4 separate regions of the Homo sapiens genome follow, and regions 1, 2 and 4 are each linked to region 3. The links are contacts of gene promoters, found by promoter capture Hi-C in blood cells and fetal thymus (Javierre and others, 2016). All regions are on one chromosome and are shown on one strand. The core of a region is centred on a gene start or on the middle of the fragment in contact, and the rest is flanking DNA. Distances in the headings are between cores, read along the strand shown.

The links. Contacts are between HindIII fragments. The CHiCAGO score rates a contact against its expected background, and 5 or more counts as called.
Region 1: a contact is called between a fragment that was not itself captured here and the fragment with the promoter of ARRDC3 in region 3, in 1 of 17 cell types (fetal thymus). The highest score is 6.4, in fetal thymus.
Region 2: a contact is called between a fragment that was not itself captured here and the fragment with the promoter of ARRDC3 in region 3, in 2 of 17 cell types (naive B cells and non-activated CD4 T cells). The highest score is 8.8, in naive B cells.
Region 4: a contact is called between a fragment that was not itself captured here and the fragment with the promoter of ARRDC3 in region 3, in 1 of 17 cell types (total CD4 T cells). The highest score is 6.3, in total CD4 T cells.

What each region holds. Positions count from the first base shown.
Region 1 is chr5:103,255,432-103,262,004 of GRCh38, reverse strand. MACIR (macrophage immunometabolism regulator) reads right to left here and starts at 3,242. Exons shown (of 3, transcript NM_033211.4): 1 at 3,109-3,242. RefSeq lists silencers at 2,482-2,861, 3,072-3,581. The HindIII fragment of the contact is 662 bases long and covers 1,619-2,280 here.
Region 2 is chr5:79,230,631-79,237,107 of GRCh38, reverse strand. JMY (junction mediating and regulatory protein, p53 cofactor) reads right to left here and starts at 977. Exons shown (of 11, transcript NM_152405.5): 1 at 1-977. The coding sequence starts at 457. It overlaps LOC124901011 (a long non-coding RNA gene), which reads left to right and starts at 1,085. Exons shown (of 2, transcript XR_007058836.1): 1 at 1,085-1,297. RefSeq lists silencers at 26-295, 466-905, 936-985, 1,026-1,075 and an enhancer at 1-523. The HindIII fragment of the contact is 528 bases long and covers 1,495-2,022 here.
Region 3 is chr5:91,380,904-91,387,411 of GRCh38, reverse strand. It overlaps ARRDC3 (arrestin domain containing 3), which reads left to right and starts at 4,095. Exons shown (of 8, transcript NM_020801.4): 1 at 4,095-4,599. The coding sequence starts at 4,320. It overlaps ARRDC3-AS1 (ARRDC3 antisense RNA 1), which reads right to left. Exons shown (of 3, transcript NR_027435.1): 1 at 6,488-6,508. RefSeq lists enhancers at 3,329-3,628, 3,508-4,025 and silencers at 3,879-4,188, 6,334-6,403. The HindIII fragment of the contact is 1,076 bases long and covers 3,281-4,356 here.
Region 4 is chr5:73,563,385-73,569,235 of GRCh38, reverse strand. UTP15 (UTP15 small subunit processome component) reads right to left here and starts at 3,493. Exons shown (of 13, transcript NM_032175.4): 1 at 3,324-3,493; 2 at 1,802-1,974; 3 at 909-1,001; 4 at 632-816. The coding sequence starts at 1,891. It overlaps ANKRA2 (ankyrin repeat family A member 2), which reads left to right and starts at 3,597. Exons shown (of 9, transcript NM_023039.5): 1 at 3,597-4,104. RefSeq lists enhancers at 3,228-3,782, 3,354-3,913, 3,924-4,133, 4,154-4,203, 3,783-4,337. The HindIII fragment of the contact is 442 bases long and covers 2,012-2,453 here.

The sequences.
Region 1 (6,573 bases), core at 700-3,199, about 12 Mb before region 3:
GCACAGATCACTAACAAAACAGCAGTAAGAAAAAATTTAACAACATTGATCACAAATCATAAGACTATAAATATGAGGACCAGCACATAGCCCTTTCAAATATTGGTAAATAAAAATCACATTCATCATTAAAGTTTATATTATGAAAGGACAAATTTTAGGCAGAGAAATTGGTACAGTAGAAGCTGTGAGTTCTAATTCTAGCTATCAAAACATTTATTTTCATTTTTTTCATGGCCCTAACCTGAAGCCCACCAAAACATTTTCAAGAAAGAAAAGAAAGAAAGAAAGAAAGAAAGGAAGAAAGAAAGAAAGAAAGAAAGAAAGAAAGAAAGAAAGAAAGAAAGAAAGAAAGAAAGAAAGAAAAAGAAAAACAGGTAGTATTTTCAGAGTGGCTATTTAAGAAGAGACCACTAATGGAAAAGCACTTGGAAAAAAAACATCAATTTTTAAAAATTCTTTCAAAATAGTGAAAATATTTTGTAACCACTAATCTCAAAGACCACTAAAAACAAGTAAAAGATGAACCAAAACATCTCTGGAGGAATACTAACTGAACACTAAGCAGAAATAAAATGGCTTAACTGTCAAAGTACAACACAACAATGAAAACAAAATGTTTAGCTGCACCTAGATGCTCATCTTAGAGGCTTCTTTCAAATATTCTTACTTTACCATTTGCAACTTGCAAAAAGTAAGTCATCAATACTCTTTAAGAAGAGTTAACTAGGGTGTGACTTTTCTGAAACCATCCTTGACCTTACAAACAAACCATTAACCTTGCCAACTTTGTAAGATAACCCATAATTCGTTCAGTAAGACAAAAATGTGTTTCTCTTTCTAGTATCAGTTCTTTTAATAGCAATCCACCCCCTTAAAGTGCAGCACTCATTATCTTTCCATTTCTGCTAGTAAAAATTAAACCTAGGTTACTAATATCTTCTTATCACGTGGTGTCATCCTTCTACTTTTAGAAAAATACTCAGTTTCACTGCAAATATGACCGACAGTAAGTGGAACTAAAGGTCAACATGCAGCCTTTACAAGAAATTTGTCTCTTAGGAAGTATCATCAAAATGGAACAGGTGTACACTGTGGAATTGGCTAATCTTTGGGAAGGCTTAAAACCAGGTACTCATTTTGATAGGCTGGTGACAAAATCAAAGTTCTCTCTGGAGGAAAGGAGCTGATCCCCCACCTCACCCCCAGCTACAAATCAGCAAAGAAATTTTAAACCCTGTACATAAAGCTTTATTACTCTAACCATATTAAGTACTTTTGAGTTAATTTTATAATAGCTCTCTAAAATACACAGAAATATACAAAGAAAATAAGCAAATTCATTGACTGTTATATAATATCAATAAATATATCTTATACACTGAAATAATTACTAACACTTTCATTTGCAATTAAATAAACTGTTAGCAAAAGCATATTCTATACATCAATTATTATCAAATTAACAGGTCTCTGTATTCATTAACTCTTATATTCCATCCTGTTCATTTTACTTTTCAGTTTATAATGCATTCACAGTTACATAATTAAAACACTGAGGATTCTGTGACACATTCATTAAACTTAATAGTGTAATCATAAATCGCGGCCAAAAGCTTCTGCCGTAATAACCAATACTATATTTTGAAATGACTGGGAAAATAAACTTTGCAAAAGGGTCATTTCTACCTCTATAGTGTCAATCCAGCATTACAGGATTTGAGAAAATAAAACAACTAACAACCCTAAATTGTAGGTTGGCTCTTCGGAAAAAAAAAAAAAAGGAAAATGAGTCTAGTAACATCAGAAATATGCAAGAATTGTTCTTTCAGCTAGGAGCGGCAAGCACACTGTAAAATGCCTCCATTCTTCCTGCTCAAATAAAAAGTTCCCAGCTCCAGCTTTACCTGTGCACCACACACACACAAACACACACACACACACACACACACACGGAAATCTTGGTTCCACCCAAATCAGTAACCCACTGGGTTGAAAACTGAGGTGGAAGGAGAGGCAGGGAGTCCCTAAGCGTGTGGAACACTAGCAAGGGGAAAAGGACGGGGCCATCATTCCCTTCGCGTTCCCATCTCCTTTCTGGCGGAGACCTGCAGATTCCACCACTAGAGAGAGTTTGGCAGCTTCACAATGGGGCCGCGTTGCTGGAGGTCTGACTGCCACCCGCCTCGAAACCCCTCTCCTCCGCTTCCCACCTGCCCCAAAGTCCACCCGCGACAGGTGGGGCGAGGGTGGCAATGCCCGACATCTGCCGCTTAAGCTTCTGGCTCGGACCGGGCCCCAATCCACACGCGCACACACGGCCACAGCCGGCCAGTCCACCCCCACTGCACCGGCAGACACTCGGAGGGCGCGGGCGGCCTCGCACGCGGGTTGCAACCAGGACGAGGAGGGTCGGCGAGATCAGACCGCCGGGGCTCGCCCTGAGGTGCTATCTGACCCGGGCAGTCGCACCCTGAGCGCGGCCGGGCACGCAGCCAAAGGTGCCGCCGGCCGGGGAAAGCTACTTCTCAAAGGGGCCTCCAGGCCCGCTGCCCCGCGGTGCGGGAACAGCGGCCAAGGGAGGGAGCGAGCGAGCGTGCGCGCCAACGCGCCCCGACTTCCGCACCGCGGCACCGCGGGAGAGGCGCTCCGGGTCGCCGAGTCCCCGCACCTCCCCAGCGAGCGCACGACGCGCGCACACGGGGGCGCACGCCCCCGCACACTCACACGCGCTGCACACTCACGGCGTCTGCGGCCCCACCCCTGTGCCAGGGAACCGCAAGCTCCCCGCACCCCGCGCGGGCCCCACCCAGTTTACCAGACCCCAGTCCCCTTCGGGTGCCTGGGAACCGGTCCACCAAGGCCAAGGGACGCTGGGGCCGCCCCGCCGCCCATCGCAGAAGCTGGTCCGGCCGGGTTTCCCCAGCACCGCGGGCATCGTGCGCCCGGCCCAGACACGAGGCGGAGAGGAAGGGGCGGCGCCGCGATTAGGGCTGGCACTGGGGATCGGAGCCTGGGGCAAACCCACTCCCCCAAGCCCCCCATAACCACCACCTTTTCTGCAGCACAAAAGGTTACAGACGGAGCCGTCGTCCCCGTGCAACCTACCGATGGCCCAGGGCTCCGCTGCCTCCGCCGTGCCCGGGGCTGCGGAGCGGGAGACAGGGGCGGGAGAGGCGCAGGACTGCGGCGCCGAGATCCAGGCAGAGGCCGCCAGCCGAGCCAGCCGGGTACCCTCTCCTCTCCCACCGCGCTCGGCGCCAGCTACCGCCCTGCTTAGTCCCCGCCCCCTCCTCCGCCTCCTCCTCCGCCTCCTCCTCCGCCCGCCTTCCCGCCTCCTCCCTCTGGCTGCAGAGGCGCAGCCCGTCAGCGCTGAGCCCGCCTCCTGCGCCCAGCTCTCAGACACCCGGAGGAAGGGCGGGCCGGCTGGCTGCAGAAAGGCGCTAAGAGGCCAGAAGAAGTTGGCGGGGGTGGGCGGGGTTGTTGACTGGTGGTGGGGAGGAGGAGTCGCAACACCCGCTCTCTAGTCTAAACCCAGCACTCCAACTAAAGAGCTCCAACTTGCGGACCTGGGAACACTCCGGCTTCCTCAGTTAAGTGGTGTGCTGATATTTGTCACTTGTGAGTCTCTGCTTAAAGGGCTCAGCACTAAGCAAAAGTACAGAAAACTAGAAGGCCATGAAATTAAAAATTATAGGATCAGTCTACGAAAACTCGTAATACCCAGTGAAGGTGGCGGGGTGGGGCGGGGGGGGGAGTTCAAATTCAGATTCTGATTGGATTAACTATTTTTTAATTTGCACAAATGTTGATCTTGTCTATTATTGTAATAAATTATTTTCTTTGATGAAGATTTGCTTCTCTCAATTCATGTACATTTCTGCCGAACTGGTTAAGCTCAGCAATAAGAATATTTACTGGCATGCATATCCAAATTTACATCTCTCAATAACCATTCTGTGAGGAAGTAACCAATTATGATCCACATTTTAAAAATGCAGAAAGTTTAGGTCATATGCCTACTGAGTGGCTAAGGCTGAATGTGTACGCAGTCGGTGAACCCCAAAATTGTTTATAAGTGTTATAAATTTCGGTACCAGTGTCCAATCAAGAGAGTTTTATTTTTTAAAAGACAAAATGCTTTATCTTAACATAAAAGACATAAATCTGGAGTAGATTAATATAAGTTTAAACGAGTCTTGATTCACACTTGTTCCAGAATCTACATATGTTCCTGATAATATAAAGGCAAAAAATATATAAACACCTCTAGTCCAACAGAACCACTCCCGGAGGCCGCTCAGCTATAAGCCATTTTATGCTACTGCTTATGTGCCCTAAAATAAGTAAAGGAAGGTAGAGGGAAGAATAAGTTTTAAGGAATGTTCCCTAAACAATTTTACAAAACATCAGTTACTTTTTTTCCCGACATAGATTTGCATGTAATTTCAAAAATATAGAAGCTAGCACAACATAATATGAATAAATAAATGAAGAAACTTTTTTTGCATCAGTACATTAGGAGAATACACCGAGAATTATTTCCGATTATAATCTGTTTGACACAATAGTGTATTGTCCTGATGATCATTCTCATAAAACCACCTCCAAAACATTGTATATTTTATATTAAGAGACTTAATTTCATTTCTTCCTGTCTGAAATCTTATAACTTTTTCAGAAGAATGTCTTGTACTTGCCCTTTGCGCTGAGAGTTTGGCAGTGTGCTTTGGCCAAAAGCAATAAAGTTCCCCTCTTAGTTTATTAGGCTCAAGGCTAGCTCTCTTGAGGGCATTGTCTCCAAATTGCCTCCCTCCCTGGGTGGTGTTCTATGCTCCCATCCTAACCCTGAATCTTCACCCAATCAGAACCTAAGTCAGTTCTTGAGTGTCACAAAGAACACCTAATAAACCAATTCACCATGCAGTAATGGTTGATAATAGCTTTATGTGTGGCTCCATCAAGGATATGTTTATGCCACCTAGAGATACTGACTGGGTATTGTCTTCACTCGGATTGGATGTGGGTTGCAAGTGCCGTGGCTGAGGGGCATATAAGAGGTGCAAGTTAATGCAGAATCCCTTCCCAGAGCTTTTTAGTGTTTTAGGAAGATCTCTTCAACCTATAAAGAAAAATGGCATTCATATAAAGGGTTAGGCCCAAATGTAGAATAGACCCAGAGCCCTGAAAGGCCTTCTGAATTTGGGGACTCAGAAGCTCCATCTCACACACTCCTTGTGTAAGTTATGTCTTTGCCTCAAGGCATCCTTTCCAGAAAATCCCTTTAAAATGACTTTAAAATGTCAGCTGCCTGGGAAATATTATACTACGTTGATGTAAATGATGTCGGCTAGCAAACAACCAGCTTGAGAGAACAGAATAGGTGAATTTGATAACAACATAATGATGTAAAACAGAATCTACAAAGACAGGTGTGCAAGAAATACCACATTACCTTCTTTTCTATAAACTCATTTGTTTCAAGCAGGGTCTAACCAGGAAAACAGAAACCATTTTGAGTATCTACAGAAGTAATTGAATGCAAGAAATTGGTAACGTAGGTGATAGGAAAAGTCAGAAGCTAATCAGGAGATGGCACAGTAATCCAGAAACTAGCAACTGCGACCTCTAGCTGGAGAAATAAGAGAAGAGGCAGGGTTATTGGAGTCCAGGGCCCAGGCAGCATGGCCAGCCTGGTGAGAGCTGCGGCCATAGAGGAGAAACAACCACTGCCAAAGAAGCAATCTAGGGAGGGAGAAGGGGGAAATGTACTATACGTTCTCCTCTCCTGCCCTCCAATCTCCTTCCAGTGCCTTGCATTGGCCAAGTCTGATACACCTGCCATGGGAGCCAGGGAAACAGCCTACGGGGATCAGCCCTTTGAGACACTGAGGAGACTAGGAGAAGAACATAGAACGTGAATCTGCACTTGATTTTATTTCTCTTTAAAGGCCTTACTCTTTTGTAAAGTTCTTCCCTCATTCCCTCGAGCAGGGTCAAAGTTCCAAGAGCATATGCCAGACCAGACCATGAATGGGTGATGATGGCAGGGAGTGGAGGGGAGGTCCTTCGGATTGCAGTCATCTGTCCACAGAGGTTTCCTTTGTTCCTTCCTGGAGCTGCCACCTATGGTTCCATGATACAGTGCACAACCTGCCTATAGACGAGACGGCCCTGCCCTATACACTGGTTCCCTCCCTTTGGCTCCGGCACCACACCTGAGGCCAGAGGAATTTCCTAGATCTGGGACCATCCTGCTAAGCCTCACACATCCTCGGTCATTTATGTTTAGGGTATTATGGTGGTCCAAGTTCAGGGCTCAAATCCCACTGCCTTGGGACATACTGACTTCTATCCTCTTCTTTCCAGATACAAGGGAATCACTTCTTAAGGAAAATCCTTCCTCTTCATTTTTTTTTTCCCAGACACTCTGCCATTGCCAGCAAACTCTATTCTGTCTCTGGGGGCTCAGGTTGTTTTCAGTAAGAGCCAGAATGAAAAAATGATCTGCAGGCAACTCCTCTCTACCCTGCCACATCTCTCCCGAAGGCAACAAGGGGGTAAATACAAGTT
Region 2 (6,477 bases), core at 509-3,008, about 12 Mb after region 3:
TCTGACCCGGGATGGGTTTGGCCCGCACTGGGCTCCTAAGACGACTCTCCGCCCCTTTGCTGCCAGGACTCCGCAGCCGCGGGTCCCCCAGAAGGCTGCGAGTGCTCCGAGGAGAGCCGCCCTCCGCCCAGGCCGAGCTCCGCCGGGGCCCGGGGCTCCTAACCAGAGTTGCAGAGGCAGTGGCCTCGGGCCGACCCCTGCCCGCCGGGCTGCCGGGCCCGCGGCTCCCGTCGGACGCAGCTCCGCCGGCCTCGGCGCCCCCTCGCGCCCCCGCTTGCTCCCGGGAGCCGCTCCTCTGCCTCTGGGCCGTCCGGTTGTGGCAGGTTATGGCAAACTTGCCCTCAATCTCGTTCCAGGCCACAATAAAGACGAATTTGTGTTTCTCGCGCTCGTCGAACACATGGGGCCGCACAGCCACCCAGTCCGACTCGAGCGTCTCCTCCAGCGCGAACGACATGGTGGCTCCGGCTTCTCGCCGCGGGGAAGGGCCGCCGGCCCGGCCCGCCCGAGGACTCCCCGCTGGCTGCGCCGCGCCCCCCGCTCACCCTCGCCGGGCGCCTTCAGCCATCTTAGTGCGCCGGCCGGCTCTCCCGGCTCGTTCGCCTGTCCCTCCGCGCCCCGACCGCCGAGCTCCTTTGTGGCGCGGATCGAGAGAAGGACAATAAGCGTCCCGGGAGCAGGTAGTTCACATGGTCACCTGCGGCCGGATCTGTTTACAAGCTCCGCGCTGCCGCAGCGCCTCGCGGCCGCCCGCCGCCCCCCGCGCGAGGCCGTGGAGCTGCGTCTGCGGCGCTCCGGTGGTGAGGCGCGGGTCCCGCGGGGTCAGGCCGGCGCTGTATGCGTCCCGGTCGCTCGCCCAGGTCAAGATCCCCGCCCCCGCCCCTGGTGCTGCTGCAGAAAGCCCGGAGCCGGCCTGACTGATGAACCCGTCTCCTAAACTCTGCGCCTCAGCATCGCCACAATGTTGCCATTCGACTGCTGACGTCGGCGGCTCCACGAGGGACGTAAACATGGGCACGTGCCGCACGCTGGTGACGCGGCGGCGGCGGCGCGCGCACCCCGCCCGCGCGCGCCGGCGCCTCCTCTCGGCGTCCCCTGAGCCAGCCCGCGAGCGGCCGCGCTCCCGACTCTCCTTCCTTCCGCGCAGCCTCCAGTTCCCCGGGGCTGGAGCCGGCTGTCGGCTGGTTGCCGGCTCCGAGGGCGATGAGAGTGGCAGGTGTGCCCTGCTGCACAGGTGGCCTCCGAACCCGGGAAAAGAGGAACTAAGGCGGAGGAACTGAGACGTTTCGAATTCCAGGTATTGAGACCCTCGAATGTACATTTGCCTCCATTCTCCTGGAGGGAGCCCGGACGGAGAGTCGCTCCTGCGTTCAGAAGTAGCGTGTTGCCGCGGGGAACGGTGTGCTGAACTATGTGGGGCTCGCCCCCAGCCTGTTAGGTTCTCCCCTAATGCCCTTGAGACCAAAACAAAAAACAAAAACAATTCCAGAAGCTTTTCTGGAAAGACAGAGTTTAATATATGAAAGGAAGGTGTCTGAGGAAAGCCCAGTAACAGTCCAAAACAAAATGAAAAATGAAAATGCCATGTCCTAACAGCATGAATGTTTACATTTCAGTTCATTGGTGTTTTATTGCTTCAGGTTTCATCATTATGTACTGTTCTGTGAACCTCGTTTTGAGGTCACTGGGCTTTAGCCCTTTTGAAGTTGTATTCAATTATGGGAGTTCCCAGAATGCATATACAAAAACAGTCATATCAATCTCTGCTATTCTTACTAAACTATGATGAAACACATTCTTAAAATTAGTAGACTTTATAATAATTATTGGCATTCTTTTTCCGATTAGTATTCAAGTCACAGATGTTGTGCACCATAGTAAAGCACAATGGAAATTAGTTCTTTTACATTTATTCACATTTCTAAAGTATATACAAAACCGTTTGGATTAGCCTTGTATTGTTAGGTTCAGTAAAAACAGCTGTTTATTCAGATGACAGAACAGTACTGAACTAGCTAAGCTTCAAACTTAGTTCAGTATTGTCCATCTTAAACTCTAAGCTTCAACACTTGGTTCAGTATTGTCCTGATATTTGAATAAACAGCCAAAAAAAATTTTTTTTTTGAGACAGAGTCTCACTCTGTGGCCCAGGCTGGAGCACAGTGGCACGATGTCAGCTTACTGCAGCCTCTGCCTCCCGGGTTCAAGCGATTCTCCTGCCTCAGCCTCCCAAGTAGCTGGGATTACAGGCACACACCACCAAGCCCGACTAATTTTTGTATTTTTATTAGAGACGGGGTTTCTTCATGTTGGCCAAGCTGGTCTCGAACTTCTGGCCTCAGGTGATCCGACCGCCTTGGCCTCTCAAAGTGCTGGGATTACAGTCGTGAGCCACTGAGCCCAGCTGGTTTTTAACATTTTGTACAGTTCATTATTTGAAACCACAAATTTTCAAAGTTTGTAACTGAGTTTGTGTCAAATCTCAAATGCAAGTCAGAGACACGTTCTGAAAGGCAAAAAAGAGAGAAAACCCATTTCAAATCTGAATTACGGGGCTGGGCATGGTGGCTGACGCCTGTAATCCCAGCACTTTGGGAGGCTGAGGTGGGCAGATCACTTGAGGTCAGGAGTTCAAGACCAGCCTGGACAACATGGTGAAACCCCGTCTCTATAAAAAATACAAAATTAGTCGGGTGTGGTGGCACGTGCCTGTAATCCCAGCTACTTGGGAGGCTGAGGCAGGAGAATTGCTTGAACCCGGGAGGCGAAGGTTGCAGTGATCTGAGATCATGCCACCGCACTCCAGCCTGGGGGACAGAGACTCCACCTCAAAAAAGAAAAAAGAAAAAAGGTTTGAATTACCAGCTAAGCAAACAATAGCACATTGTAGAAAACTTTCTCTTCTTTTTTGCTAAAAAGCAACTGCAAAAAGCTAGTTTTTCTGATAAAGCATTACTGACATGATCCCATTATGTATAATTGTGAATACAGAGAATGAGTATTAAAAGAATTTGTTTACAAGTTCTCTTCAGAGTAGAGGACAAGAAAAAGAAAAAAATTATTATTTAAAAAAATAGTCCGGGTGCGGTGGCTCACGCCTGTAATCCCAGCACTTTGGGAGGCTAAGGTGGGCAGATCGCAAAGTCAGAAGTTCGAGACTAGCCTGGCTAACATGGTGAAACCCCGTCTCTACCAAAAATCCAAAAATTAGCTGGGCGTTGTGGCAGGTGCCTGTAATCCCAGCTACTCGGGAGGCTGAGGCAGGAGAATCGTTTGAACCCGGGAGGCAGAGGTTGCAGTGAGCTGAGATCGTGCCATTGCACTCCAGTGCCTGGGCAACAAGAGCGAAACTCCGTCTGAAAAAAATAAAAAATAATAATATTTTGGCTGGATGGCTGGACACAGTGACTCATGCCTGTAATCCAAATGCTTTGGAAGAATTGCTTGAGCCCAAGAGTTTAAGAGCAGCCTGGGCAACATGGGGAGACCCTGCCTCTACAAAAAAATAAAATAGACCGGGCGCGGTGGCTCCAGCCTGTAATCCCAGCACTTTGGGAGGCTGAGGCGGGTGAATCACCTGAGGTCGGGAGTTCGAGACCAGCCTGACCAACATGGAGAAACCCCATCTCTACTAACAATACAAAATTCACCAGGTGTGGTGGTACATGCCTGTAATCCCAGCTACTTGGGAGACTGAGGCAGGAGAATCTCTTGAACCCGGGAGGCGGAGGTTGCGGTGAGCAGAGATTGCTCGATTGCACTCCAGCCTGGGCAATGAGCAAAACTCCGTCTCAAAAAAATAAAAATAAAAAATAAAATAAAATAAATAGCTGGCCATGGTGGTATGCACCTGTGGTCCCAGCTACTTGGGAGGCTGAGGTGGGAGAACTGCTTGAGCTCAGGAGGTCAAGGCTGCAGTGAGCCATGATCGCACCACTGCAGTCCAGCCTGGGCAACAGAGTGGGACTCTGTCTCAAAATAAATAAATAGACCAGGTGTGGTGGCTCATGTCTGTAATCCCAGCACTTTGGGAGGCCGAGGTGGGTGAATCACTAAAGGTCAGCAATTCGAGACCAGCCTGGCCAACATGGTGAAACCCCATCTCTGCTAAAAATACAAAAATTAGCCAAGCGTGGTGGTGGGCACCTGTAATCCCAGGCTGTAATCGGGAGGCTGAGGCAGGAGAATCACTTGAACCTGGGAGGCAGAAGTGGCAGTGAACCGAGATTGCGCCACTTCACTCCAGCCTGGGCAACAGAGCAAGACTTCGTCTCAAAAATAAATAAATAAATGGAAATAAAGAATGTTATAAGAAATATTTTATGTGCACGTATATTAAAATTATAATATTTCGTCAAGTGGTGTTAAGAGTAAAATAACATGAAATTATATTTATTCATGGATAGAAAATTTTATCTTATCAGAATAGTGATACACAAAATTGGTTCACAGTTACACAGGTGTTAAGTATTTCCTCTCAATACACTGGCCACTGTGTTTTGTCAAATGAGATGTTTCAGTGTTTCTTGTTCGTGCTATGTTAGTAACTGTTATCCTAGAAATGAAGAGAAACAAACCAAAATTCCCATGATAGGTTACTATAGTACTCTACAATTCTTTGTTTAGGTCTGTATCTGATTGCCAAGCAAGATCTCTCAGTGTATAAGTTACTCCCTGGGAATAAGCAAAGCTACAGAAAAACCCCACATACACCATACCAGCCTTCAAAGGGCTTAAAACTATTATCTGTTTGAAGTTTTTAGAACTATTGTGCATCTTTAGGTAATTCAGGAAATGCTTTAACTCTTTAGAACTTTTCATAAAAACTATAATAGTTTACATAGTGATTTTCAAATTATATAGCATTTTCTCACCTCATAATAACCATGAAATGTAGGTATGAAAGGAATAAGCATCTTTAATTTATATAGGAGAAAACAGCAGTTCAGATTAGTTAGGTTACACATCCCAGGGTTGGGAGCAGGGAGCAACTTCAGTTCCGGGGTCCATTTGCAAATCCACTGGTGTCTCAGTTAGATTCTCCCGGAAGCAGACACTGAGAAGTAGGAACGCAAAAAATTTATGGGGTGCCGGGTGCGGTGGCTCATGCCTGCAATCCCAGCACTTTGGGAGGCTAAGGTGGGCGGTCACTTGAGGTCAGGAGTATGAGACCAGCCTGGCCAATATGGTGAAACCCCGTCTCTACTAAAAATATAAAAATTAGCCGGGCGTGGTGGCACAAGCCTGTAGTCCCTGCTACTTGGGAGGCTGAGGCACGAGAATCGCTTGAACCCGAAAGGTGGAGGTTGCAGTGAGTCGAGATCATGTCACTGCACGCCAGCCTAGGCATCAGAGTGAGACTCTGTCTCAAAACGAAAAAAAAAAAAGTATGGAGGCGACCCCTGTGGAAGAGAAGGGGAAGGGGCAGAGGCAGAATCAGGCAGGCTAATCCAACAGGGAGTTCTGAGGCAAAAATTTCCCTTAAAGAAGTTCCTCATGGCCAGGCACGGTGGCTCATACCTCTAATCCCAGCACTTTGGGAGGCCAAGGCGAGTGGATCACCTGAGGTCAGGAGTTCAAGACTAGCCTGACCAACATGGAGAAAACCCATCTCTACTAAAAATACAAAATTAGCCAGGCGTGGTGGCGCATGCCTGTAATCCCAGCTACTTGAGAGGCTGAGGCAGGAGAATCACTTGAACCCAGGAGGAGGAGGTTGCAGTGAGCCAAGATCACACCATTGCACTCCAGCCTGGGCAGCAAGAGCGAAACTCTGTCTCAAAAAAAAAAAAAAAAAAAAAGAAGTTCCTCTCATTGGGTAGATATAGCCAGGCCTTGCTCAGTCATTGGCTGGGGACCACCCTGAGAAAAGCACAGGATAAAAACCTGAAGCTGATGCTGAAGACACTAACAGGTGGGGAGTGTCCACTTACCATACTCCTTGCAGCTGAGGGGTGGCTCCTTTCTAGAAGGGGGATCTAACTGACACATCTTCACAACTGCCACAGTTTACCTTGTGTGCCACATGGATCCACTTCATAAAAACACGTGGGAAGCATCTCCTCTAGGGCTCTGGTAGGCCTCTGTTCCCGAGGGAAAACAAAAGAGGGAGGTTATTGGGGCAAACTACAGCCTCCATAGCCACAGCTGATCTCGCAGCCACAACTGGTGCTCCTTTTTCTCTTTTCTTTTTAATTTTTGTTTGTTTGTTTAAGACAGGATCTTGCTCTGTCACCCAGGCTGGAGTGCAGTGGTGCAATCTTGGCTTACTGCAGCATCTACCTCCTGTGCTCAAGCAATCCTCCCACCTCAACATCCTGAGTAGCTTGGGACCATAGGTATGCGCCACCACGCTCAACTAATTTTTTTTTGTAGCGACGGGTGTCTCCTTATGTTGCCCAGACTGGTTCCGAACCCCTGAGTTCAAGCTGTCCTCCTGCCTTGGCTTACCAAGGTGCTAGGACATTTACAAGATAC
Region 3 (6,508 bases), core at 2,846-5,345:
AGTCAAAAGTCAAAATTTATAAAGTAGTTCAGAAAAGAAATTTAGCATTCCTAATTCTTTCTGTAGACCAGATGCCATTTGAGCTTAGATGAATAAACTTTACCAACTCATCTTCTACATGATAATATGCACTGCCATAGCTTCACTGGCAATGCTCTTCTTTAGTTGTACATCTGGATGGAAATACACCAAAATGTTAACAGTGGTGTCTCTGAATGGACGGACAGTAGAATTATGGGTGATTTTCTTTTAATCAAGAAATAAAATATAACAGATTAAATGGTGTTCACATAACACAAATTATACTATTTATTAATGAAGGATATCAGAATCCAAATTTGATAGTGAGTTTCATCACAAAATCCATAACATATTTAAAAGTCTATTAAGTATGAAGAACATAACAAACATAATATGCGTTATGTTTGTAATAGCTCTCAAAGCTAAAAAACAAATACTACTCATTTTGCTAATAATACAGCAAGTCTTCTGTCCAGTCTGCATGCCAAATTTGCTGCACTGTGACGATATTAAAGAGTTAAGTCAGAGTTACAAAATCTTGAAATACAGAATTAAGACCAAAGGAAAAAAATCCCCCTTAGTCCCATAGCACTCGAGCCTATCAGCTGCTAGTTAAAATAGATTAAGCATAGATTTCATATTTTTCTTTATGAAACAGATTCTGACTACTGGTAGGTTTTTTTTTTTTTCAACCAAACACCAAAACTTCCAGTTGAGATGGCTTCCTTTTTTTTTAAAAATAAAAATATTGAGCATGTTGATATAATATGCAAAAAACTCCAAACTTGGCAGTAATCTTAACATATCTCCTCAATATCATACAACTTGACAGCAATGATCATTTATCAGTCTTTGATAGAGTTCTTGAGATTGAGTTCAAACTTTAATATATTAAGGTGAAAGAGCCATTTGACTCAAAAGCTAATATAAAAAGAGATTCCTACTTAAGCTCTGAAGAAGCAATGAAAGGGGAAGGGAAGCTAGTTATTCAGTCTAGTTGGAATTTTACTCAGTAGTGCCAACTGCATCTAGTGGAGGGATTAGAAAAAAGCAAAGGAGATAACATAGTAGTGGGATGTTATTCTGGGCACCAAAAGCACATGTAACTGCATACTGGCAACAGTGAGACAAGCTAACAAAGGGGACAGAAGATGTACTTGACAGGATTATAGAGAGTTAGCAGATGAGTAGGAGGAGATGGCATATGAGACGTAGGCTGGGGAGAAGTAGGAAAGAGCCTTGATGGTAAAGACGAATAGTTTAAATATAATACAAAATACAATAATGGCCCAGTGAAGCAAGCTGAGAAGCCCAAGATAATGTCTACAGTACAGCATTTCAAGCTGTCTAAGGAGTAGCTATTTAGACAAAAAATCTGAAAGGGGGAAGTTATGAAAGCGACAAGAGAAAACATTCAAAATTTGGTCCAAGCGTTTTTGTTTTTGTTTTTGTTTTTAAGAATTGAAAAGATAAAGCGAGACCAGGCGCAAGCGGCTCATGTCTATAGTCCCAGCACTTTGGGAGGCCAAGGCGGGTGGATCTCTTGAGGCTAGGAGTTCAAGACCAGCCTGGCCAACATGGTGAAACCCTGTCTCTACTAAAAATACAAAAAGTAGCCAGAGGTGGTGGTGCGTGCCTGTAATCCCAGCTGCTCCGGAGGCTAAGGCAGGAGAATCGCCTGAACCCGGGAGGCAGAGGCCGCAGAGAGCCTAGATTGTGCCACTGCACTCCAGCCTGGGCAACAGAGTGAGACTCCATCTCAAAAAATAAAAATATAATGAAAATGGCAGCTGGTAAGAATTTCTTGGAAATTTGCCAGTTACCTAAGTATTTAAGAAGACACAGTAAAAAGAAAATTTTAAAAATAGCAAAATAAATAATAAAGACAACTATTCAAAAGATCCTGAAAGCTTCAAACACAAAGAATAATGTACTACACAGTGACAGGAATGAAACATTTAATATTTTAAAACAATTTTCCAAACTACAAATAAATTTCTTAGACTTCTTTTTTATTAAATGCAATTCTGGTGTATTTATATAGCTAATTCTTATTTTTTCTGAAATGAGTTATATTCTAATTAAATAAATTTTACTAAAAAAATCCGAATTCAGCTGTTCACTAACCCTTAATAATTTTTAACATAAATGTAGACACAAATGTGCAATGAATTTATGTATTCATTATGGACTACACTTTTAAATCCATTCCTTGCTCAGTGGTTTTCGAATGCTTATTAAATATCATTGACCTTATGCTGAGGAAAAGCTGTCATTCTAGGAAATTCACCACTTCTACCACTAGGTGGAGAAAAAACACAAGTAGTATCTGTAATCAAAGCTAGTACAAGGCCCCAGGTACTTTACCTAGAATTTCCACCAGGTGTCAACCAAGAGGTAGGGAAAAGATAAGACTGTTTTTCCCACTTAAATATGCAAATTTATAATTTTATGCATAGCGATCTAAACTCTGAAATAAATGGCCTGCTCATTAATTGTCTAGTTTGCATATTTATACTCTTTATATATTGCTGTTGAGTCCAAGATATTGCCTTGTCAACTAAAATCCAACCCCCAAAAGCTTAGTTTCTTTTGAAATAAAACAGCAAGACCAATAAGTTTAGTTTATTGTGACTCATAGGCTCAACCTATCCATATACACTACGCAAAAGAATCTAAAACGTTTAGACACGGACAGCCAAAAATCTTCCAAGGTATTTTTGGTCATACATATATATATAGAGAGAGCACCAGATTCATATTTTTTCTTTCTACATTTCTCTTGTAAGGCAGTTCTGTTGATTGCCAGTAATCTAGATGAGTTTATGCTGTTATGCTCTGAATCCCAGTGTGATGTGACGAAAGCACTGCTATTTTTTACCAAACATTCACAATAAAAAGAGAAATGTACCTATATTTAAGATGTATCATGAGAATTACTACGTTAAATGGTCCAAGGCTCTCGGCCGAAAATTAAAGCTTCACACAGTTAAATCCCTATTTATATACCAAATCATGCTTTTTAAAAACAATTTTATGCGCTTCACTAATTTCTAACAAAGATTTTCCGATTCTGTTGCAAACAATATGTCAGCTAAACCACTATGTCATATGCCTTTTATAAGGTAGTACTTTTTTAGGCCGAACTCTATTCTTATTCCTCTGGACACAGGAGTTGTAATCATGTCTTACTCTGCAAATCTAGCCGTAGGTGGTGTCTTAAAAGGACTTTTTCTTCCTTCGAGGAAGTGATCAAGCTTCCCCCAGCCCCCACCCGTGTCATCCTGGAAACAACTTGGTTGTTTTTCGGTGCTAATTAAGCAATGTAGGAGAAAGAAGTTGAGGAGACAGCAAAGCCTATTGATTACATTGTACTTGCTTCTCTACCTCGCTCTTCAAAGGATTAAGGTTCCTTTGACCTCGACTGAGTTCATTTCCAACCTGCCTACAAAGTACTGGTTTAAAAAAAAAAAATCCAAGCAAAGTATGCTCTTGTCTATGAACAATATTTCTTGTCCGGTTTTATTACGTTTTCTTTGGAAATTCGTTAGATTATGCTCAACAATCGGCCGCTTGCCCAACCGGTTTCTCCCTTCCCCCATCTCTCTTCACACATCACTTTTTCCTCCTCCCATCCAGGCAGTTGGTAAAACGCTGCAGTGCCGGTAACGCACGCTTCGGGCTGGTCGCTGCAGTTTATCCTAACTTGGCTTTGCAAACTCCCCACCCAGCCCTTGTACCCTCGCACCCCACTCTGCCATTATCTTTCTAGTAGAGTGCGCTCGGTAACGGGCTCCAGATAGCACGTCGAGGGTATACGGTAGCCTGCCTACCAATAGGAGCCCACAATGAAGAGAAGTCAGGTTCAGCCGGCCAGCAGCTCCAGTATCTCCTTCCCCTAGCTCTACACCTACTGTACCCGGGAGCGAGCGGGCAAGGGAGCGAGCGCGGCGCGGCGCGGCGCGGGAGGGGGCGCGCAGGGAGGGCGGACAGCAGCCGCGGCCTGCGCCTGCGCACTGGGGTTGTTTTTCACAAAGCTGCTCTTAAAGTGAGCTGGCAGCTTTTAGCCGCCCGTCTTTGTAAGGAGACCACTGAGACGAGCGGGAGCGCGGAGCAGCAGCCTCTGCTGCCCTGACTTTTTAAGAAATCTCAATGAACTATTTGTAGAGAATCACTGATCCGGCCTGCAAGCATTTTGCACGGCAAAAATATCGATCAGTGTTAAGTGAAGATCACATTTTATATGCGATCTTGACTTTTTTGTCTTACATTATATTTTTATAGATTTTGTTATAAACATGGTGCTGGGAAAGGTGAAGAGTTTGACAATAAGCTTTGACTGTCTTAATGACAGCAATGTCCCTGTGTATTCTAGTGGGGATACCGTCTCAGGAAGGGTAAATTTAGAAGTTACTGGGGAAATCAGAGTAAAATCTCTTAAAATTCATGCAAGAGGACATGCGAAAGTACGCTGGACTGAATCTAGAAACGCCGGCTCCAATACTGCCTATACACAGAATTACACTGAAGAAGTAGAGTATTTCAACCATAAAGACATCTTAATTGGGCACGAAAGAGGTAAGTTTTTGTTATTCATAAGTCATTGGACTCATTTTCTTTGGAAACGTACCTTTTCAGTTTTCTGAATTAACGTGATTCTACTCCTAGCATAACTAAGCAGTTTGAGAAAGGTTAGCAAAGTTGGAAGGTTTGGATTCTCCTTGACGTTCATCGTGTGTTAAGCCGTAATGCATGCAGGCATCTGCAAAGTGACTGCAAACTACACTTATTCAGCTACCTCTGTACCCGGCTCGGTCTGTGCCACACGCACTTGTAGTCCATTTGCACCTTACTTATAAATTCTGTTTGAATCCAATTCAGTCGTTTTACTAATATATTTTCAAATGAATTGGTAAAAGCTGCAGTCTTAGATTTTTGCCCTTTTACTTGCAACCTAAGATGTAAAAACTGAACTTCGATCAAGAAATGTAATAACATTTTTAAGAGACTTAATGGGTGTGTTTCATTTTTAATATTGGAATGCAAAAGACTTTAAATAATTGATGACTGTTCTTTCATAAAAGATTTCTGTGGCTTATTTTGACATATGGTATCAACACCCCACGTGTTTTTTCTCTATTCTTTACCATTCCTTTAAAAATTTACACCCAGCATTCCTTATTTTAAAGGAATGACTATCTGTCATTATGATAGGTATCGAGTCAGGTTTAGAAGCCATTTAGGATCAGTAATTTTCTTTTCCGAGCATCATGTCTAACTTTGGAACGTGCATTCAATGAAACCCATGCCAGTCAAATGGAATTGAAAAGTATAGGGCACACTGGATTTGATTTTTGGTTAGAAGAGAGAGATAAAGGGTTGTCAAAAGGAGAAGGAGTCCTGAGATTTCCAATCTATTGTTTAAATGGTTACATTGTGGAAATATAGGAGACTCTAGGCTTGTTTTTCTAAGTTTCCACCCTTTGTTAGAAGCGGTTCAATCCTGTTTCGGACCAGTTCTGGGGGGTGGTGAGGAGGGGCGCTTGTTCTGCTCTCAGCAGATTGGTTACACGCGTCAGGTGGTGGCGATGACTTAATTCCTAGCCCAAGAAGAATATAATGTTAAAACTGGTTATGTAATTTTTGTGCCTCTCCTTTTTAATGCAGTATTTAGTTCAGATGTTGGCGATTTTTCAGAAAAAAAATTAGAGACATATTTTACCTTATTTTTTATATTAAAAACGTACATCCTGGAGAAGTGCTGATGACTAAGGCAAGTGAGAAATGAAGGATGCTTTGAGGGACAGTATTAATGCATTATTTTTGAAACTATTAAGGTGAACTCAGTTCTTTAGCAGGATTTTCGTAGTTAGATACAGGTACTTTGCATCCTGAAATAACTAATTAATCTCTCCAAGTGTTAACACTGATAGGAGATGCAAATGCCTAATGACAGCCTTGGTATTTGTTGAAAAGCAGATAGATGACTTTGTGTTTGTACCTTTCTGAATATTGCAGCCTTTTATGAAACGGATGAAAGAAAACAGATTTTTCCTCAAGGGGTTAAGACTTGCAGTGGGGAAAAGTAGAACAACGAGATGTGAGGACAAATATAATTTCATTAGTTGCACCATGATTTCGTGGTAAAGAAAACTAAATGCCCTGCACCCCCAACAAAATGCCCCCCAAACCCTGCAACGCGTAGACGAGCTCAGTCTGGAATAGTTTCAATGACTTGAAACTGGGAGCTCTCAAACTAGCCTGGTAACTGAGACCCCGCCCCGGGCGCCCGGGATAGGCGGAGCCAGGTTTGTTAGCCTGTTGCTAAGGCGATGGCAGGCGCTGATTGGATTGGGCGCGGGCGGGTGGGGAGAGTGAGCTCGCGCCGCGGCTGGGGCGAGGCTAGGAAACCGGCGTGCGCCGGTAAAGGTTCCTCCAGAGCGACCCCCACCCAGCCCGTACTCACGTTTGTTCCCGGGCTTCTGGG
Region 4 (5,851 bases), core at 983-3,482, about 18 Mb after region 3:
TTCCACTTAGCTGCTGAATATGGAAGCAAAGGCACTTTAATTTTTAAAATTTCAAAAAGTTCTTTAAAAAACTCTAAAGAGATTTACCACTAAATAGAATCATGTTACATAAATTTCTGTTAAATTTTAACAAATTTCAGCACGGACATTGGCAATCCTGAAAACAAAGTTATAATATAAAATTGTGATGGCCACTTAATTTATTAAGGGGCAAAACACTATAAATTCAAGAAGAAAATCCACCTTCCTACTTGACTTCAACATAAGAGCCTCTAAGACAGTACAGGCCTATAGAGCTGTCATTACCAGCTGTAAGGTTGTCTTCAGGTCAGTAATTCATAATCTCAGCTGGGCCACAGACCCCACTAAAGTTAACCAAAAGCTACAGAGTAGCTCCCTAGATAAACGTGTATTTCCTAAAATATCACATACAATTCTAGGGAATTCATAAGCCCCATGAAACTGGACCACGGAACCCAAGTTAAGCACTCTTAGAACAATCAGGAAATATAGTACCTATAGGCAAATAATCTCCATAAAACTGATCTCTATCTTTTTAACCAAAGTCCAGAGAAAAAAAGAGCTTACAACAAAATAAAACCAGAACACACAGAAACCAACTGTCTCTTACTTTGTATGGCCTTCAAACTGCCTGAGGGGAGCCCTCCCACTTATATCAAAAAGTTGAACTCCACCATCTTCACTGCCAGCCACAAGCAATCTACCATCTTGTCGAAAAGTAGCACAGTATGCTGTGTCTTTAAATCGAGAAAAGGTTTTTATAGGTTCTTGGGAGTATCGGCCATAAATGTGAATCTACAAGATGAAAAACAGTATTTCACCAGATGGCTCAAGATCAGTAGTAAACTATACAAAAGAAAAATAAAGAAATTTAATATTATACTTACTCTTGAGGAAGCTGTGACAGCATAATTATATGGAGGCTGAGGAGAAAAGTCTACTTTTGAAACTGCACCAAATTCCTTAATCTGAACAGGGGTCTTAATAAAAAATAATAGTGTGTTAACAGAGTTACCACTGGTAAGACCTATTTATGCATTACATAATTTCTTACAGACCGTTTCTCTTTGTTCTTAGTAACATTTCTTAAGTTGTATTTAACATAAAATTACAAAGAAAGCAAAAAAGGTACATATCTCATCACCCAGACTATTCTTGTTGCCACTGAAATAAACATATGGTTAGAAAGCCACACCCCACTCTGTCTCTTCAGCTATTGAGTTTACTGTGATTTCTACCAGAAAAAAAAAGTTATCATGTCTACACCAGCATACAATAACCACGTACTTGTACTTTTAAAATAACAAAAAGATAATCATACCATGTAGGCTGTTCCACATCTTGCTTCTTTTCACTTAGTAACACATATTAGCTTTCATAGGAGCAATAGACTTACCATCCATTATAAGGGCACACTGTAATTTACTATACCAGTCCACTACTAATAGACATGGGTTTTTCAAGATTTCTACTATTACAAGCAATACTTCAATAAACATCTTTACACATATGAGATTCAAATTTTAAAATTTAATTCATTTGGCATTGATTGATCATCTGTTCTGTGCTAGGCATTTGTATGGTTAATCTGATTAAGCAGTATGGACTTTTACATAAAATTCCAAGAAAAAATAGATATCAAATTATCTGCCCAAACTATAAGCTGCTGATAGATGGTTTTCAGTTAATAATTCTCTGTTAGAGCATCCAGAGTATAACATATGCTAGAGAAATTGGCATAAACACAAATCCCTTCTCCCTCATTACGTCCCACACTCACCTTATAGTTGTTCCAGTACAGTGTATCTTGGGTGATTTTTTCACCAAGTATAGGATATGTCTGAATAGCTACAGGCTTATAACCAGCCATAATTCCATATAATTGCACTATTGTCCAAGAGTCACTATTTTGGAATTGGTATTAGAAATAATTACAGTGACTCTGCCTTAATTCTGAAAAATAAAATATTTTATATACATATTATAAGCTTGTACACATAGTTGATTTTCACTCTGCTTTCTTTAAAAAGTCTGTGTGGAAGTATATAGATTAGAGACCAATAAGCCATTTAATTCTAACCCAGAAAAGGCAATCTATAGGAAGCAGGAATAATTAAAGTGAAGGCTATCATATCGCACCATCTATTCAGCTGTACACAAAGGTTCTCACACCTAGCCAACCATTTTACAACACTTAGGAATAAATCTAGCACAGCCTTACAGTAGCCAAACCAAAAAGGATCATGCTGGCTTTGAGTGTCCATTTTTTGGCAACAGGAAATATTAAGGTGAAACTGCAAATACAAGTTTCCTGAAACCAAGTTTAAGATGACATTTAATCTATAACAATTATAGTTACGGATTTGATTTCCTGAAAGCCTAAAAATGCCAAGAAGTAAGAAACACAAAGCTAATATTCTAATGTAGAAGCTTAAAATTAAATTTACTTTAAAAGGTTTAAACAGTAGGAAAGAAAACTGTAATAAAGCAGTCCTGAAATTAAATTCAACACTAAAGTGGCAGAATAGGATAAAACTTTTAAATAACATGCAATCAAGCCAAAACATTTTTCCAGAACGACTCAATTGCAAAAGAGATTCAATGTTATCAGGTAAATGATTCCAGAGGTGCTGCTCATCATCTATTCCAAAAAGCCTGAAAACTTTACATTAGTAACACCACGATAAATAGGTGTAACATATATTTAAAAGGTGCTTTAATGAAATACAATGACCAATGATTGTATTTCACTGGTCTTTGGGAACACTCTTCTGTTCATTAAAGTACCTACCAATGTGCAGGACACTGCTCTAGGCACTGGGGCTATAATGGTGAATGAAATAAAGACATGGTCTGTGCCTTTGCTTACTCCAATATACTCCATTTTGGCTGGTGACTGGCACCAGATATTAACCTAGACTCAGCCTTGACGTGTCCTTTTCTTCCTCACTCCTAACATCCAAATAGTTAACAAGATCTGCTGATTTTATCTCCCAAATATTTTAAAACTCCATTAGGTTCACTTCACCTGAGGGAGCCTCGTAAGCAAAGGCAAAGATGGAAATGTGTCCATTGCCTTGGAGAGTTGCTGATTACTCCGGGAACTAACAACGGTGGACAGGAAAGGGTGTAATCGCAGAGAAGAACCTAGGTCGAAGCTTAATTGAGGGGAACTTGAGCCGGTTAAAGAATTTGGCCACTCTCCTATATAGCCTGGGAAGCCCCAGAAGAGCATGCCAGATTAACACAGGAAGGCCGGGTGTGAGTGTGGGCTTCCCTCAATGGGAGCCGCCTTCACCTACCTCCACTGAGCCCCAAAGGGTCCGACGAGACACCTCGACCCAAGGACAATTAATCGGACTGTGCCAGCTCCCTACCCTGCACAGTTCAGCAGCACTGGCGTAAAAATCACATGGACCCTCAAGGAGCCGGCGACACACACAGCGAACCGAACGTCGCGCGAAGATGACGTACCAGAGCACGCTCATGAGACTCACGCAGCCCGGCGGCGCAGAGGCGGGTCAGGTGGGCGGGGCGATCTGGAGTAGGAGGTGTGACCGGAGGGCGAAATTGGGGCTTCCTCTGCTCTGGTGACCCAGAACCGTCAACTGAAATGACCCTGTCTGTGTAGTACTCCGGCAGGATGGGCCTCGGAGCGTAAAGGCGGCAAAAACAAAAATATTAAAAAAAAGGAGAGAGGGACAAAAAAAAGAAAACCCGAAAGTTTCAGCTGCATTGCTGCGGAACGTTTTTTAGCCAGAAGGCGAAAGAAGAAATCGGAAGTGACGTCGCGGCCAAAACAAGCCCGGGCTTGGAGGCCTGTACTGAAGCTGGCCTCAGATGGGAAGGCCCGACTCGCTGTCTGCTGTCGTCGGTGGTCGCGAGACCTTGCACTCTCACCGGGTCGGCCTCCAGCCCCTGTGCCCGGGATCCGCTCGCCGCGGATGAGCGAGAGTTTCTTCCTGGGACTTTTCGGGCACAGCTGGCCGGTGGCGACAGAACGGACTTTCTTTCCTGCAAGAGTCTCCCCTCCAGCGGGAGACAGCGGGCTCCTGTCTCGGGACGCTGGGACACCTGTCGCCTGTGAGGCATCATTTATTTTCATAGCACCTTCCTCTCCTTGTAGAATAATTCCAGGATCAGGAAGAAACGAGGGGCTCCTGTTATTAGCATCCACAGGAACTAGCATAGCTGCCCACTTTATCTCCGTAGACTCTCTATCCCTTCATCCCTGGGCTCTGACAGATCGAGGTGAACCTAGCTATCGATTGCCTTACCCCCTTTTTCTCACCACCACCTCTTCTAAGTCCTGTTACCCCACTCCCCTCACCCCCGCCTCCCTCTCCTGTTCTTCAAAATTTTGGCCTACCAATCAACTTTGCTTCTCCTCTCGTTAAACTGCTGTGCCAAGATAAGCGTTCATTTTCCACCCACCCCCTTCGCCTAAGCACATTTGCTATTCTCCTCTCGAAGACCTGTAATTCCATCTATAAACCCTGATTTGTAACATGGAAGCTGTTTAGAGCTGGAAAGAATATTAGAAAGGCCTATTTCAACACCTTTTTATAATAGATGAATTTCAGAAAACTTGTATTATTTATTTGTCCAGGAGTGGCCAGCTAGTTAGTAGCGATGTTGGGAGTGGAAAGCCAGGTCTAATCAGCAAATGTTAGAAATAGAAAAGAATATGGAAAAAATTGTTAAAGTTAAGATCAGAAAACATTTATGGAGCACCTGGTAGGACCAAGTACTGTTCTGTGTGCAAAAATTAGTAAGAGTGGTCCCCATCCTAGGGGAGTTTTCAATTTAGCTGTTATTTAAATGGAAATTGTCAAAAGGATGGTGAATGCTAAAATACAGATACATGCAGGGTGCTCAGAGAGCTTAGGGGAGTTGCACTTAGCCAACCGCTGGATAGGAGAAAGGGGGAGATGGTTCTTCCCTCAGGAAACACAGTTCACATTGTCCAGTCCCTTTTAAGACGCATGGACTAATGCATTGCACATCCATCTCCCTTTGAATCACTGAACTAATTTTCTTTTCTGGTTTCCTTCTTTTTGCCCAAATGTATTAACCTTCTTACTTCCTGCTTTTTTTTTTTTTCCTTACTATACTATGTGTTATTTATTCAACTCTCTCGTGGAGATTTTGGCTTTGTTTAGGGCTGCCTCATTTTAATGGTCAGAGTGATGGAGTCAGAAGAGCTGAGTAAGCCCTCATAATTCATGAGCTTCCTTTTTTACCCCTCCTAGGTGGACATATGATTACCTGACCTGCCTACTCAAAGGATTGTTATAAAGACTAATCTTTGAAAATGTTTTTAAAATTGTAGAAGGTGGTTATCTGTAAATGTATGGTTTCGCGACCCTTGCTCCACTGCGATCCTAATGCATTTTTCTTTTAATTCCAATTCCAATTTTGAAACACCCTGCACCCTCTCAAAATTCCTAAGAGGCAATTAACCCTAACATGAAAAAATTAACTGGATGTTATTAATTTCCTTTCTGTCCCAAATGATAATGTATCTAAGACAACTATACATCTTGGAAAGCCAATCCATAATCTACCTACTTTATTTTTCATGAAAACCTACATTAAGTTGCTAATGCTTAATCGGAACAAAAATTCATAAATGTACCTTCAGTTCATCAAAACCAAAGCTTTGTAAAGCCTTTCATGGTCTAGGAATCACAGGTGTTATAGATGACAATGCCAATAAACTTGGATACAACATGAATTATCATTTCTTAAATTCAAACTAAGGGCCACCTATATAAACATAGCATATTAAAGAACTAACCTTAGGTAAGAGATTAAAGTTTATTTTCAT